Linked DNA regions of Homo sapiens: region 2 is linked to region 1. Evidence: promoter capture Hi-C in human tissues and cell types (Jung and others, 2019). All regions are on one chromosome and are shown on one strand. Each heading gives the region's core, a stretch centred on a gene start or on the middle of the fragment in contact. The rest is flanking DNA. Distances are from core to core; before and after follow the strand shown.

Region 1 (6,645 bases), core at 2,142-4,641:
GTGCTGGGATTACAGGCGTGAGCCACCACCTTATTTTGTATTTTAAACATGTTACACATTTACAGGGTTCCAAGTTTATATATAAAACAAGATATATTCAGAGAGGTCTAGCTTCCATTCCTATTTTCTACTTCACCTGTTCTTGATCTTCTCCTATTGTTTACCATTTTTATTAGATTTTGGTTTACCTTTCTATTGTTTATTTTTGAAAATATAAGTAAGTATCCATTTGTATATGTATCTCTACCACCCCGTATACCAAAGGCAGCATACTATATACACTCTTTTATGCCTTGCTTTTTCACTTCACTTCACATCATAGTCATATATCTTCCACATTCCTTAACAGCTTCATAATACTTTGTCGTAAGCATGCATCATTTGAAAAAATGTTCCACTTCATTGACAAAAAGATAAATACAAAACTATACTGGAGGCTGGGCGCAGTCGCTCATGCCTGTAAACTCAGCACTTTGCGAGGCCGAGGTGAGTGGATAGGTTGAGGTCAGAAGTTCGAGACCAGCCTGGCCAACATGGCGAAACCCTGTCTCTACTAAAATTACAAAAATTAGCCAGGCGTGGTGGTGATTGCCTGTGGTCCCAGCTACTCAGGAGGTTGAGGCAGGAGAATCGCTTGAACCTGGGAGGCAGAAGTTGCAGTGAGCCAAGATAGAGCCACTGAACTCCAGCCTGGGCAACAGAGTGAGACTCCGTCTCAAAAAAAAAAAAAAAAAAACTACACTTTGATAACATTTCCCACATATCGATTTAGCAAACATCTAGGAGTTTGACAATTCATTCTATTGGAGAGGCTGCAGAGAAACAGGAAATGCTGCTGGTGTGAATACAAAACTGCACAACCCCTATGAAGGGGAATTTGGCAGAATTAAACAAAATAACATGTTCTTTTACCCTTTGACCTAACAATCCCATTTATAGAAATCTATGCTAAAGACCCACTGGCAAAAGCATATTATATATGCACAAGGAAACTTTTGTATAGCAAAAGACTGGGAATAGCCAACATATCCACTAGTAAGGGCCTGGCTAAATAAACTACAGTACATCCATATATAACCAAAAAGAATAATTATGCCCAGTTCATTTAAAACACAGTATCTTGATTTTACATCCTTAGTTGGATACAATTTTAGAAAAAAGGAAGTACATGCAAAGTTAAACTTCATTTATCTGTTAGCAATATCTCTATTGTTATTCTGTTTTTATTCTTTATCCTGTTATTGCTATTGTTGTGTTTATATACCTGTGAATATAGGTAGATGAAGCAAATAACCATTATGTTAATATTAATATTTATTAATAGTAACATTAATAATAAGGCAATGAAAAGAACCAATATTTTCATTGCCTCCTTGTGTGTAGGAAAAAAGAACCAATATTTTCATCTTAAGAGAAAGGAAGGGCCGGATGTGGTGGCTCACACCTGTAATCCCAGCACTTTGGGAGGCCGAGGCGGGTGGATCACGAGGTCAGGAGTTCAGGACCAGCCTGGCCAAAATGGTGAAACACCGTCTCTACTAAACATACAAAAATTAGCCGGGCCTGCTGGCAGACGCCTGTAATCCCAGCTGCTTGGGAGGCTGAGGCAGAGAATTGCTTGAACGTGGGAGGTGGAGTTTGCAGTGAGCCGAAATTGTGCAACTGCACTCCAGCCTGGGCGACAGAGCGAGACTCCATCACAAAAAAAAAAAAAAAAAAAGAGAAAGGAGACGAAAAACAAGAAGAGCTCAGCTTTAAAAAAGGATCACGACGTAGAAAAAGACACAACACTGAAGATTGTCATGGGTCTTTAAGAAAAGGAAATTTGAGACGGCTAAAACGCCGAACAGTGTGGAGTTTGGGGAAGAGATGTGGCTAAAGACAGCGTAAGCAATTTTTTAAAGTTATGTCTGAAGCAAGAAGAAAAGACAAGGAATAGGTTCAGTTTCATCTCTGATACACCGTTTCTTGTTAAAATTGATGTTTTTTTCTGCAGGCATTTGCTTCCTGAATGATGGTCCCACTCAGCCATCCACCTATACTTTCTACAAAGTCAATTTATACTGATTCTTCAGATCAGTTAATCACTGGTACGTTTCCCCTCCCCGGTCAAGGATCTTTTATTATACGCTATCATAGAATCATATTCCTTTCCTTAGCGCACTTCTCTCAACTGATAAGTGCCGCCATTAATGTACTTACTTGATAAATATATGCCTGCCTTTCCTCTTCCAGGGCCGAAACTGTGCCTGGTTTTGCTCATCATTCTATAGTCTATAGCACGAGTTCAATAAACAGTTGTTAAAGCAACATATTTAACTTACATTTTGTTCCCATCTCTTCACTCAGAGACTTTTCTTTGGATTGGGAAGGGTAAAATATCCGAAGATTTGAACTCCAAAAGAAACAAAATGATTCTATGCAAACGTTTCCTACTTAAAACTCATTCATTGGACAAATATTCACTTAGTCCCTGGCACTATTTGGTAATAGGAATACAGGAGTGCATATGGCAGATAAAGTTCTGTTGCTGCCCTTACCAAGTTTCGTGGGGGTGAGATGTGGTGTTAGTAAATGCATACTATTTTGTCTGTATTTAAATCGAGTCCAAATCTCTCGCTCTACAGCCCGCCTTGGGATGTTTCTTATATCCCAAGAAACAGAATATTTTGATGGGATCGCTGATGTTTCAGACTGCAAAAGCAGCTCAGGGCGTTTGCAGTCGTGCAAGTCAACAAGATAACCGTCTGGACCGGAAGCTGGGCTCCTCCCGGTCTCCTAACGCCAAATCCAACACCAAGCTTCTGCAGCTGCCACCTCCCGTAGACTTCGCATTTCTTCCGCACTCTCCTCTCACGACGGGTCTTCTTTGTTGTACTTAATTTCCTACGCAATAAGATTTCAGCATGACCATCAGTCCCCCAAAGACTAATTCCCACAGAGCCGAAGTTCCCACCAAGGGCCGAGGGTTAAGGTTACTAAAATCAGCGTTTCTGAATCCTGTCTCAAGTTGTCTCATCTGGGCTTCCGTAAGAACGGTTTCTTCATAAGAGGGCCTTCAGCGACAGCCAAGCTCGGAAAAGAACGGGAATAAGTTGTCTTTTATATTTCCTCAAATACTGTGAATGGTCTGAGGCGCAGGTCAGGTGTATTTAAAAACCTTTAAACAGTATTCCCCCGCCCCAAAAACTGGCCTTGAAGGAACAAGTGAAACTCATCCTGCTTTTCATGTTTGCTGGGTTTGCCCGTTACACCCCTTCGCCCGCACTTATCTAGACAGGCAGCTCTCGGCCACCCTCCGGGGTCCTGATTTTGAAAAGAGGAGTGGACCAATCAGATGTGGAGCGCTGTTTCGCGCTGCCATTTGAGCCTGGGCTGAAACTGCGGGTGTGACCCCCCCGTGGTGGCTCTGGGTGTCTGCGGAGGAGCTGGGGGCGGAAGCATGAGGCTAACGGCTTGGCTTCAGTGAACGCACCGGGATGTGCAGGCCGGGAGGTAGAGGCAGGCTGATGGGGGAGGGAACGAGCAGCCTGTGAGACGGGGTGACGGCGGCTACCAGCCCGGGCGGGCACCGGGACTGGAAGAGTTGCCTGAGCAGCCGGCTGGTCCGGCGGCCAGGCTAGGGCGGGGGCGAGCGCCCAGTTGAGCCTGCTGGGGCTGGAGGAGCGAGAAGGGTTTTCTTCACATTTCAGAGCGAACCAGACGGGGACAGTAAGGTTTGGAGGAAGGGGGATCGTTGGAAGTAGCAAGAAGTGGAGAGAATCTGGCAATAGACGAGAAACCGAAAGAATCAGAAAGAAGTCTATGTGAGTAGCTGAAAGCATTGGGTGACCAGAAAGAAGGTCGGTGTAAGTGAAGGAAGAGTGAGGTGTGGCTGGATCAAAGGGCTAAGAGAAGCGGGTCTGTGTAAGTGGATGTGAGTGAGGATCAAGGAAAAGCCGTGGAAGTGGCCGGGGGTCGGGGCCGCAGAAGTGCCAGACGGGGCCGGAAAGCAGCCGAGCGGAGTTCAAATTTGAGAGCGTTTGGAAATTGGAAGACTTGGTGGCGAACGAGGGTCAGGACCTGCATCCTGCCTCAGAGAGTTATCGACGTATCCGGAATGTGGGATCAGAGGCTGGTGAGGTTGGCCCTGTTGCAGCATCTGCGGGCCTTCTATGGTATTAAGGTGAAGGGTGTCCGTGGGCAGTGCGATCGCAGGAGACATGAAACAGCAGCCACGGAAATAGGGGTAAGTTCTGTGAAAAGGGATTTAGGTTTAAAAGAAAGGGCACACCCTTTATCATCACTTACTACCAGATCGTGCTAAAATGTTCACTCTGTGTATCAAAAAGAATGGTTAGGTGTGTAATTCAGTTCAGATGGTCGATTGCTGATATTTAAAAAGTGACATTCTTGTTTTTTTTCCCCCAAGGATTTTTGATCATTGAGAGAAAGTTGCAGGATTTTCCAACTTCAGCACTATTGACATTTTGGATTAGATAATTTTTGTTAGGGGAAGACGAAATGCTGTTCTGTGAATTGTGGGATGTTTAGCGGGATGTCTGTCTTTTACCCACTAGATGCTGGTAGCATCTCTCAGTTGTGACAATTAAAAATGTCTCCGGATATTGCCAGCTTACTGTATTTGGAACAGGTAGTACGTTGGGAGGGACAAAAACTCTACCCCTCCACCCTTGTTTTAGAGTAAGGTTGTAGAGGGACAAGGGAGACCAGTGCATTTTCTACATGAATCTGTAGATGAAGAAGTATGACAGAACATTAGAAATAGGCTTCAAATGATGACTGCATATTCACTAATTTGGGAAACAGATTTGCTGCTTGGCCATGTCATACTTTTGGGACAGTAAATTTTTTTTTGTATGAGTAAATTGAGAAGCCAGAGTGGAATAATTGAGAAGTTGTTGATGTTTTGGTGGTTGAAATAAAGGGATTTTGAATGAGATTTTAATAGCTCTGCCACATAATCAGGAATTCCATTGTGAAAAATAAGCTGAATGTAAAGCATTTTATTTTAAATTTATGTGCCTAATTTATATGGTACTTCCTAGTACTTGGAGACAAGCTAATAAAATTAATATACGTTGCTTTTAATAGTTTATGGTTTCTTAAAAAAAGTGCTTGGAGAAGAAAACCACTAACAAAAGTAATATGTGTGCCTCTTAATCGCTGATAAACTTTGGAGAAGTTATTTTTGTTGGTAGCAAATTAATGGCAATACATGTACTTACATTTAAAAAGCTACAGTGATTTTTTTCTGATTGTAAAACTGGCTTTCCAAGATCTCAAATGTAGCTGATTTTGTAAGTATATGGAAGAGTTTGTATATGGACTTTTTTTCACCCCTTTTCTTTTCTTTTCCTTTTTTTTTTTTTTTTTTGAGATGGAGTCTCCCTCTGTCGCCCAGGCTGGAGTGCAGTGGCGCGATCTTGGCTCACTGCAAGCTCTGCCTCCCGGGTTCACGCCATTCTCCTGCCTCAGCTTCCCGAGTAGCTGGGACTACAGGCGCCCGCCACCACACCTGGCTAATTTTTTGTATTTTTTAGTAGAGACGGGATTTCACCGTGTTAGCCAGGATGGTCTCGATCTCCTGCCCTCGTGATCCGCCCGCCTCGGCCTCCCAAAGTGGTGGGATGGCAGGCGTGAGCCACTGCACTCGGCCTTTTCACCGCTTAACAAGAAAAACTGTTGCCTGTTTTCAGAGTCAGATAGACCTGAGTTTGAGTGCTGTTCCACCCCTACTACATCTGTAAACTTGGGCTGCTTGTTTGATTTCCCTAAGCTTCAGTTTTATATATATAAAGTGGGAACGTATTTCTCCTTGGATTATTTAGGGATTTTTAAAAAGTGAAGCTCTTTATGTAGGCCTAGCACAGTGCGGGTAACATGCCACTTCTTCATCTAATGATAGTTGTCATATCATTGGTCTGCCTCCTAATTGGTAATCATGCCATATAAATTCAGCTAGAAACACTTATAAGAATATTCTAATGAAGAAATATAGAAGATCATTGTGTTAGGAGATCTAATGGGATAGTTTGTTTGAAAACAATTTCTTTAGCCGACTGGTGTTTGTTAGCTAACTGTAGTTTTAAGTTTTAAAAACATTTTATGAGATTAAATTATAGTGGTTACTTGTGAGGCCAGTTATTCTAAATAATAAGACTTAAGGAAAAAAACACGCTGAATTCTAGTTATATATAGCAGAAGTAGACTTACCAGCTTAAGTATCTGGTTTATTTTTACATTTGGTTTGGCTGCACAGTATCAAGAAAATTCTGATTTACCCAATAAAGGGGTTGCCCATACTAACATTTTTTAAAATAGTTCAGCTTAAAATGATGATCATAATATTAACAAATATTTTTTGAATGCTTACTGTGTGTCAGACACTGATACAAGTGTTTTGTATGTTTTAATTTATTTAATTCTTCCTACACCTCTATGACTTAGGATCTGTGTGAGGATACCGAGGAACAGAATGTTAATTTGATCCAGGTCACTCAGCTGTTAAGCAAGAGTTAAGATGTAAAGCCTGGCATTTTTGTGTGTGCGATGGCTCACGCCTGTAATCCCAGCATTTTGGGAGGCCGAGGCGGGTGGATAACGAGGTCAGGAGATCGAGACCATCCTAGCTAACACGGTGAA
Region 2 (6,645 bases), core at 1,642-4,141, 340 kb after region 1:
GTTACATGACTGGACATACAACAACTACAACAACTAATAGTTACCTTCAAGACGAGATCTCTGGCTGCTAATTTCCACTGCAGTTTTCTCTATCATATTTCCAGTACTTCAATACCCCCACTACATAAAAAACTTGGTTTGTTTAAAAATAACTCTCCAATATATATACCTTACATTTGGGGGATTATTAAAATCAGAACAATTATTTCCTGAACCCCCATGTACCTATGGCTCATACAATATGCTACTGATGGTTTGAGACAGCTCTATCCATCTGATTAGGCCTGGATCTGAGCGCTAAGATATTGCTCAATGTGTAATACCCTCATCTATCTGCCTTCTAAAAATAAAATGAAAGTTGGCAGATCTTGAGTGTCTTCATCTGCAAAGAAGTCATGACCAGATCCTTGGAATTCATATAATTAAAGTTTATCTTTTGACAGATGAGAAACCTGAGATCGGAGAATTTAAAGGACTTGTTCGGGATTCGATATTTGGTTAGGGTCAGAGTCAGAATTAGAAATTATGTTTACTGACACCAAAGCTGGGCACTTTTTTCACTATACAATGACCAAAAAATAAAATTCAGTCTTGGCCAAGTGAATTTAAAGTCAGAACTTGCAGTTAAATGCAGACGAATGCCCATTTATCAAGTAATTAACAACACAAGGCTGGGCACGGAGGCTCACGCCTGTAATCCCAGCACTTTGGGAGGTCAAGGTGGGCGGATCACTTGAGGTCAGTAGTTGGAGACTAGCCTGGCCAACATGGTGAAACCCCATCTCTACTAAAAATACAAAAATTAGCCAGGCATGGTAGGTGTGCCTGTAGTCCCAGCTACTCTGGAGGCTGAGGCATGAGAATTGCTTGATGAACCTGAGAGGTGGAGGTTGCAGTGACTAGGCAACAGAGTGAGACTTTTTGTCTCAAAACAAACAAAAAAATAAGCTGTGGGGTTGTTGCTGGAAACATTCCTTTGCTCTTTAGAACTATGTGGTACTACGCAAGTTGCCCAACCCCTCTAAACTCCAGTTTTCTCATGTATAAAACAGGAACAATAATAGGAACCGTCTCACTGGGTTTTTGATCAAATTAGTTAATATATGACAGGCACTTAACCAAAATTCCTCATTTAGCAGTGGCACTACTAGTGATATCTTTATTTTTTAATCTCCACTTGAATGACATCAAATAAATCCAAGGTCATTGAGACTTCTCTGTTCATATTAAGCATGTGCCTGTGAGGGCATGTGCAGGGGCTGTTCTGACTATCACATACATGGGAGATGTGTGTATTTTGCAAAGCACTTACAAGTTCACCTTCAAAAGCATCCATGTGACCTGGACTTGCAACCGAAGTATACATATATGATCTTTCCCTATTCTTGTTACATCTTCACATACTTCTAGCTTGGAACTGAAGGCCAGAGGACTCACTATCACCATCAAGGTCCCAAGCACAGGCGCTCAGCCTCATCCTGTTGTCTAGCTCCAACCCCGTAACAGAATCTCAGAAAATGGCCTGGATTGAGGATAAATGAATGAGATTTGGGAAAATATAGGCGAGACTTCAAAACTTCCCTCAACGAGAAGATAAATATTTTTTAAAGCATAAATATTTAGAATGGTTCTCTCATAGCATATCCTGTACTTTTTTGTGTTTTCCAAACAGATAACCCCAAATCTATATTCAAATAAACTTTTGCTTTTCACTCTCTTCCGATATGGAAGATTTTAAAGATGTGTGTGCGTGTGCGTGTGTGTGTGTGTGTGCGTGCGCGCACGTGTCTGTGTGTGTGGTGAGAAAGGAATTCCAGAATCAGTCCCAAAGACGCTAACTCTAATATTCCATATATTTTTATACTGCAATCATTCATTCTAAGCACTGGAACCATGGCTACTAATGATTTTTTTTCTGCTAATACCTTCAAGTCTTTCTAATATGCAATTGACTCCCAATACTCTGTGTGGGTAATTTGCTGTGAAATTTGGCCTCATGGTCCACAATAGAGATATGAGAAGACTAAAGAGAGAGCTGGGGGCAGTTACTCTCTTCCAGGTTCCTGTTCTGGGGGTTCTAGGATCCATGCAACTTTTATCTTTGTATCTCAGCATTCTAAGGTGCCCTCTTGTGGTGTGGGGTAGGAAAAGAGCATCCTAAATGCAGCTGGCTGGAGACACAAATCCAGATCAAGTTACTGTTGAACAGCCAACAAGAGAAACATGGTTGAACTCCAAGAATAATACTCAGATGCAGCATTCTGAAAGAATCATTGATATTCATATTTGACAAGTCCTAACCACTCTTTTTTTTTTTTAAAAAAATAAGCAAATAAAATAAACGTACAACTTCTGGGGCTGTCTCATTTCCAAATAAAATTTACAAGGTGGAATTTTTGTAAACTGGTGCCTGTCATGGAGCTCCTGTTTCCTTTCAGTAAATGCGGCCAGTCAGGAGTCCTTAAACTGAAGAACAGGAAAGCCCTGATCATTCCAGATATCACTCAAGAAATCGGGACAGAGCGCTAGTTTAGGCCCCCAGGTCATATATTAGTACAATCAACACATGGGCAAGTTATTTCACTCACTTCTATAGATGATAATCCCTAACCCCATTGCTCAGTTGTCAACACGTGAAAAACGTAAAGGGGTAGACAAACCTATCACCACCCTCATATAAAAAAACTAACGCACATTCCTTACACCGAGGGAGCCCAGAGAAATTATCTTTGTACACCAAAGCTGAAATAATATAAACTTGGAAAGCAATAGGTTATGAAAACCCTATAAATTTATGTTCAGGCTTCCAAACAATGTTCTTCTTCCACCCTTCTCCCCTCCCCAATAAACTGAGACATAAAGTCTGGGATTTGAGAATTACAGCTATGATCCTTGCCAAAGTGACCAAATTACAATCAATGCTGAAGGCTTTTGGCACCACAAAATTTCAACAGACTAGTATCTGCTGAACCATCACAACCCCCTTCCCCCAAAGTGTTTGGGGAATAGCCATTATCTCATTAATTCTTAAGAAATATCTATTAAAAAGACAGAGACAGAGAGGGAGACGGGGAGAGAGGAATCCTTTTACATATCTTACAGAAGAGGAAACAAACAGAGATGATTTATAATTTAGTCAGATCATGGCATCTCAAAAAAGGAGGAATATTGGCAGATCATGCTGATTTTCAGAATGTCGTTGGGCAAGTTTAAAACACAATTGGAAAGTTTATCAGAGCAGTTCTTTTTTTTTTTTTTTTTTTTTTTTTTTACAGGAACCAGGAGAAAGAATCACAGACAATGAAGGTGGATTTCTGGCTCCTTGTCAAGGTGCTGACCTACCTTGCTCAGGAACAAATGTCACTTAGAGACAGTGTAAATATGACATATTGACAGGGGAAACTCTTTATCTTTCAGTGAAAAGAGACTATACAAACACGATATGTACTACTAGATGTCCGAATGTATCACTAACGGAAGTTGTGGGATACTTCCATGAATATCAACAAACAAGAATAATCTAGAGATTCCCATTTGCAAATAGTTTTAGGAATTGACACATTAATGCTTTAAGACCTTAAAAACCTTGGGAATCAAAGATGTTTAAGAATTTCTTTCCAAAGCTTTCACATTAGTTCATAAACTAAGAGATTAATGCAAAGAATACTTAACGTACTCTTATAATTTCATATTATACTTATAATAACCATATTAAGGGGGTGTTATTCCCAATTTCGTAGAGAAGAAATCAGTGTGAGAAGGTTAAATGACTTTTTCTGAATGTTACGAAAGAAAAAAATAAGAGATAGTAGCAAGTGGTGGTGGTTCCATTGACAGCTGGTATCTTGAGCTCTGGTTCTTAATTTGGTTACTGCCATGTTTGTCGTGGCAGAGTGGTCTAGTATCACAAATGAGAATGGCACCTATCTAAGTATGCAATATAAATTTGTAATAATTAGTAATAAATTTATTTTATTATAGCTAATATTTTAAATGGAATTGATAAGGTCAAAGAAAAACACCAGCTCCAAATCTATATATGCCTTTTGCTGGAGTTACATAGAAAGCACATCTTTTTACTCAAAGATTTGGCTTCCTATTGGAAGACTCTGAAGAAAACCATGGATAATTACACAATGTAGGAAATACTTTGGATATGCAGAAGTGTGGCTATATTTTGTTGATGTTTTTAATAATGGCTACTCTCATTCATAAACTTCAAATAAATCACCCGAATAAAAGTTGATACTATCACCAAGGTGGCAAGTTACCATTTAAATAAAGGGGAAATGCAGACACATGCTGATGAACAAGTGTTCATCATCATCAATGTCTTCCCAGTTAAAAGTGTACAAACCCCTACAAGTCACTTTATCTTTCTCGGTCTTAGTTTCTTATGTGCCATATGAGAGAAATAAGATGATGGGTAAGATTTCTTCTAATTCCTAGACTACATGATATTACAGAACAGGATCCCTGCCTAGTTTGAGAAGATATACATACATACATACATACATACATACATACATACATACATGCTTAAACAAGTGCCAGTGATATGAAATTTAAATACTATTTTAGTAGTTGAAGCTAGAAATTAGTATCTGAGTTCCACAGACTCTTGATCATTCTGTCCATTACTTCTGAAATACAAACGTGAAATGTGCTGAGGGATGAAGACCAGCTCTATTTAAGGGATATTCATGGCTGGGTGCAGTGGCTCACGCCTGTAATCCCAGCACTTTGGGAGGCCAAGGCAGGTGGATCACCTGAGGTCAGGAGTTTGAGACTGGCCTGGACAATGTGGTGAAAGCCCGTCTCTACTAAAAATATAAAAATTAGCTGGGCGTGATGGTGGGTGCCTGTAATCGTAGCTACTTGGGAGGCTGAGGCAGGACAATCGGCTTGAACCTGGGTGGTGGGGGTTGCAGTGAGCCGAGATCACACCATTGCACTCCAGCCTGGGCGACAACAGTGAAACACTGTCTCAAAAAAAAAAAAAAAAAAAAGACATTCATATTCACGTTTCAATGCTGGCTGAAGCCCTATAGCCAAGATTCAGAATTCTGGATTTTGAAATCCAGTAATGTACCCAGCACTTTCTCTTGTTCAGTCATTATAAAAAGACCTATCTGGCAAGTATCCTCCTGGTCTTCTCATATGGGAACCATTCCATGATCCAGCTGAAGGAGTTGGCCTTCAATGCTGAAACTCCTCAGCTGCTCACCACCTCTAAAACCACTTTCATTTTCAAGAGGAAAGAAAACAAACATCTGACTCTCAGAAGAGACCAAGGGATCCATCTTGATGTTGGAAATCTGGCCACAGGCATGGAGCAAAGATTATAGGAGGCAGGTTTGGAGTTTTCTGGCATCAATTCAGCTTGCTATTTTCTTTAAAACTTAAAACCTCAGCTCTAAGGTAGGACACAAAGCTCACTGAAAACTCTAAGCTGCATATTACCACAAAGCTCAGTAGACCCAATTTTTTGCCTCCACTTACAGAGAAAAGCAAGCACTACACAAGTGCACGGATTCCATGGGGCAATGGCAACCACCCTGTTCAGAAAACTTAAAGAGTTTAAATGAAGTGTTATTTTCCCCCTCAGACAGAGAAACAAAATAAATGTTATCAAGTACTAACTGCCTTAAACTCCTTTGTTGAACAGGCAAACTATTATAAGAAAAGAAATAATAAATGACCAAATGCTTTGATGTTTAAAAACAAATATTCATTCACCAAAACAGAAGTGAATAGTTCTATGAGTAAACAACATGTTTTCAAGCATCTGGAGAGAAACAAAAAGAGTAATAGCAATCTAAGAAGCAATAAAGAACAAAAGTAAATTTAATACGATCCTGCATAAGAAAGCATTCAGAGGAGATTCTGGTGAGTTCAGGCAAGCCTTCCTGAAAGAGGCAAACTGAAGTTGGCTTTGGAATATACAGATTTTCCTTTTGCCATTCAGGTAGAAACAAGTCTTCTGCTTCTATAGATGGCATTTAAAAAGCCAGCCTGGCTACAAAGCAGGCTTACCTCCATCTCATATGAATCTAATTGCATGGGAATACATTCTATGTAAATCAGCTGACCTTTTTTTGCCCGGATTTGTCTGGAACTTACTATTTGTATTAATCCATTTTCGCACTGCTATAAAGATACTACCAACATGGCAGCAGGAGAGAGAGGGTGGGGTGAGAGCGGCACCAGAAACTTATGGAACAACCAAATCTCGTGAGAACTCACTCACTATCAGGAGAACAGAAAGGGAAATCCACCCCCATGATTTAATCGCCTCCCACCAGGTCCCTCCTAGACACGTGGGTACAATTTGACATGATATTTGGGTGGGGTCACAGAGCCAATTTATTAGAAAAATTCAAATTGTTCCATGCAATATAGCCTTTTAAAATTTTCCTTTAATACTTCTTTGGATATTTTTCTCAAGACAACACAATTACAGTGACCTTGAGAAACATTTTGATCATGATTTTTATCCGTAATTGAAGTCAGTGGGAAAATCTGATTTGATTAACAGAAAACTGAATTCAGACATTTTCCTTTTTTCCCCTGTAATTTGCAGCTAATTTCATAATCATTACATTACTTGAGAAATGAACTGATGATGAACCCCATGATGTAATT

Evidence for each region. The method cuts DNA at HindIII sites, captures the fragments that hold promoters and counts their contacts. A contact is called where the count stands out against the background at its distance.
Region 2: a contact is called between a fragment that was not itself captured here and the fragment with the promoter of ARHGAP11A in region 1, in 1 of the 25 tissues and cell types used here (lymphoblastoid cells).

Annotation. Positions count from the first base shown.
Region 1 is chr15:32,612,113-32,618,757 of GRCh38, forward strand. ARHGAP11A (Rho GTPase activating protein 11A) reads left to right here and starts at 3,392. Exons shown (of 12, transcript NM_014783.6): 1 at 3,392-4,228. The coding sequence starts at 4,100. ARHGAP11A-SCG5 (ARHGAP11A-SCG5 readthrough) reads left to right here and starts at 3,364. Exons shown (of 14, transcript NM_001368319.1): 1 at 3,364-4,228. The coding sequence starts at 4,100. ARHGAP11A-DT (ARHGAP11A divergent transcript) reads right to left here and starts at 2,634. Exons shown (of 3, transcript NR_135833.1): 1 at 2,325-2,634. The HindIII fragment of the contact is 9,261 bases long and covers 1,192-6,645 here.
Region 2 is chr15:32,954,055-32,960,699 of GRCh38, forward strand. The region is part of intron 9 of FMN1 (formin 1); the gene reads right to left. Among named protein-coding and RNA genes, the nearest start is that of FMN1, 240 kb to the right of the region's middle. The HindIII fragment of the contact is 8,182 bases long and covers 1-6,645 here.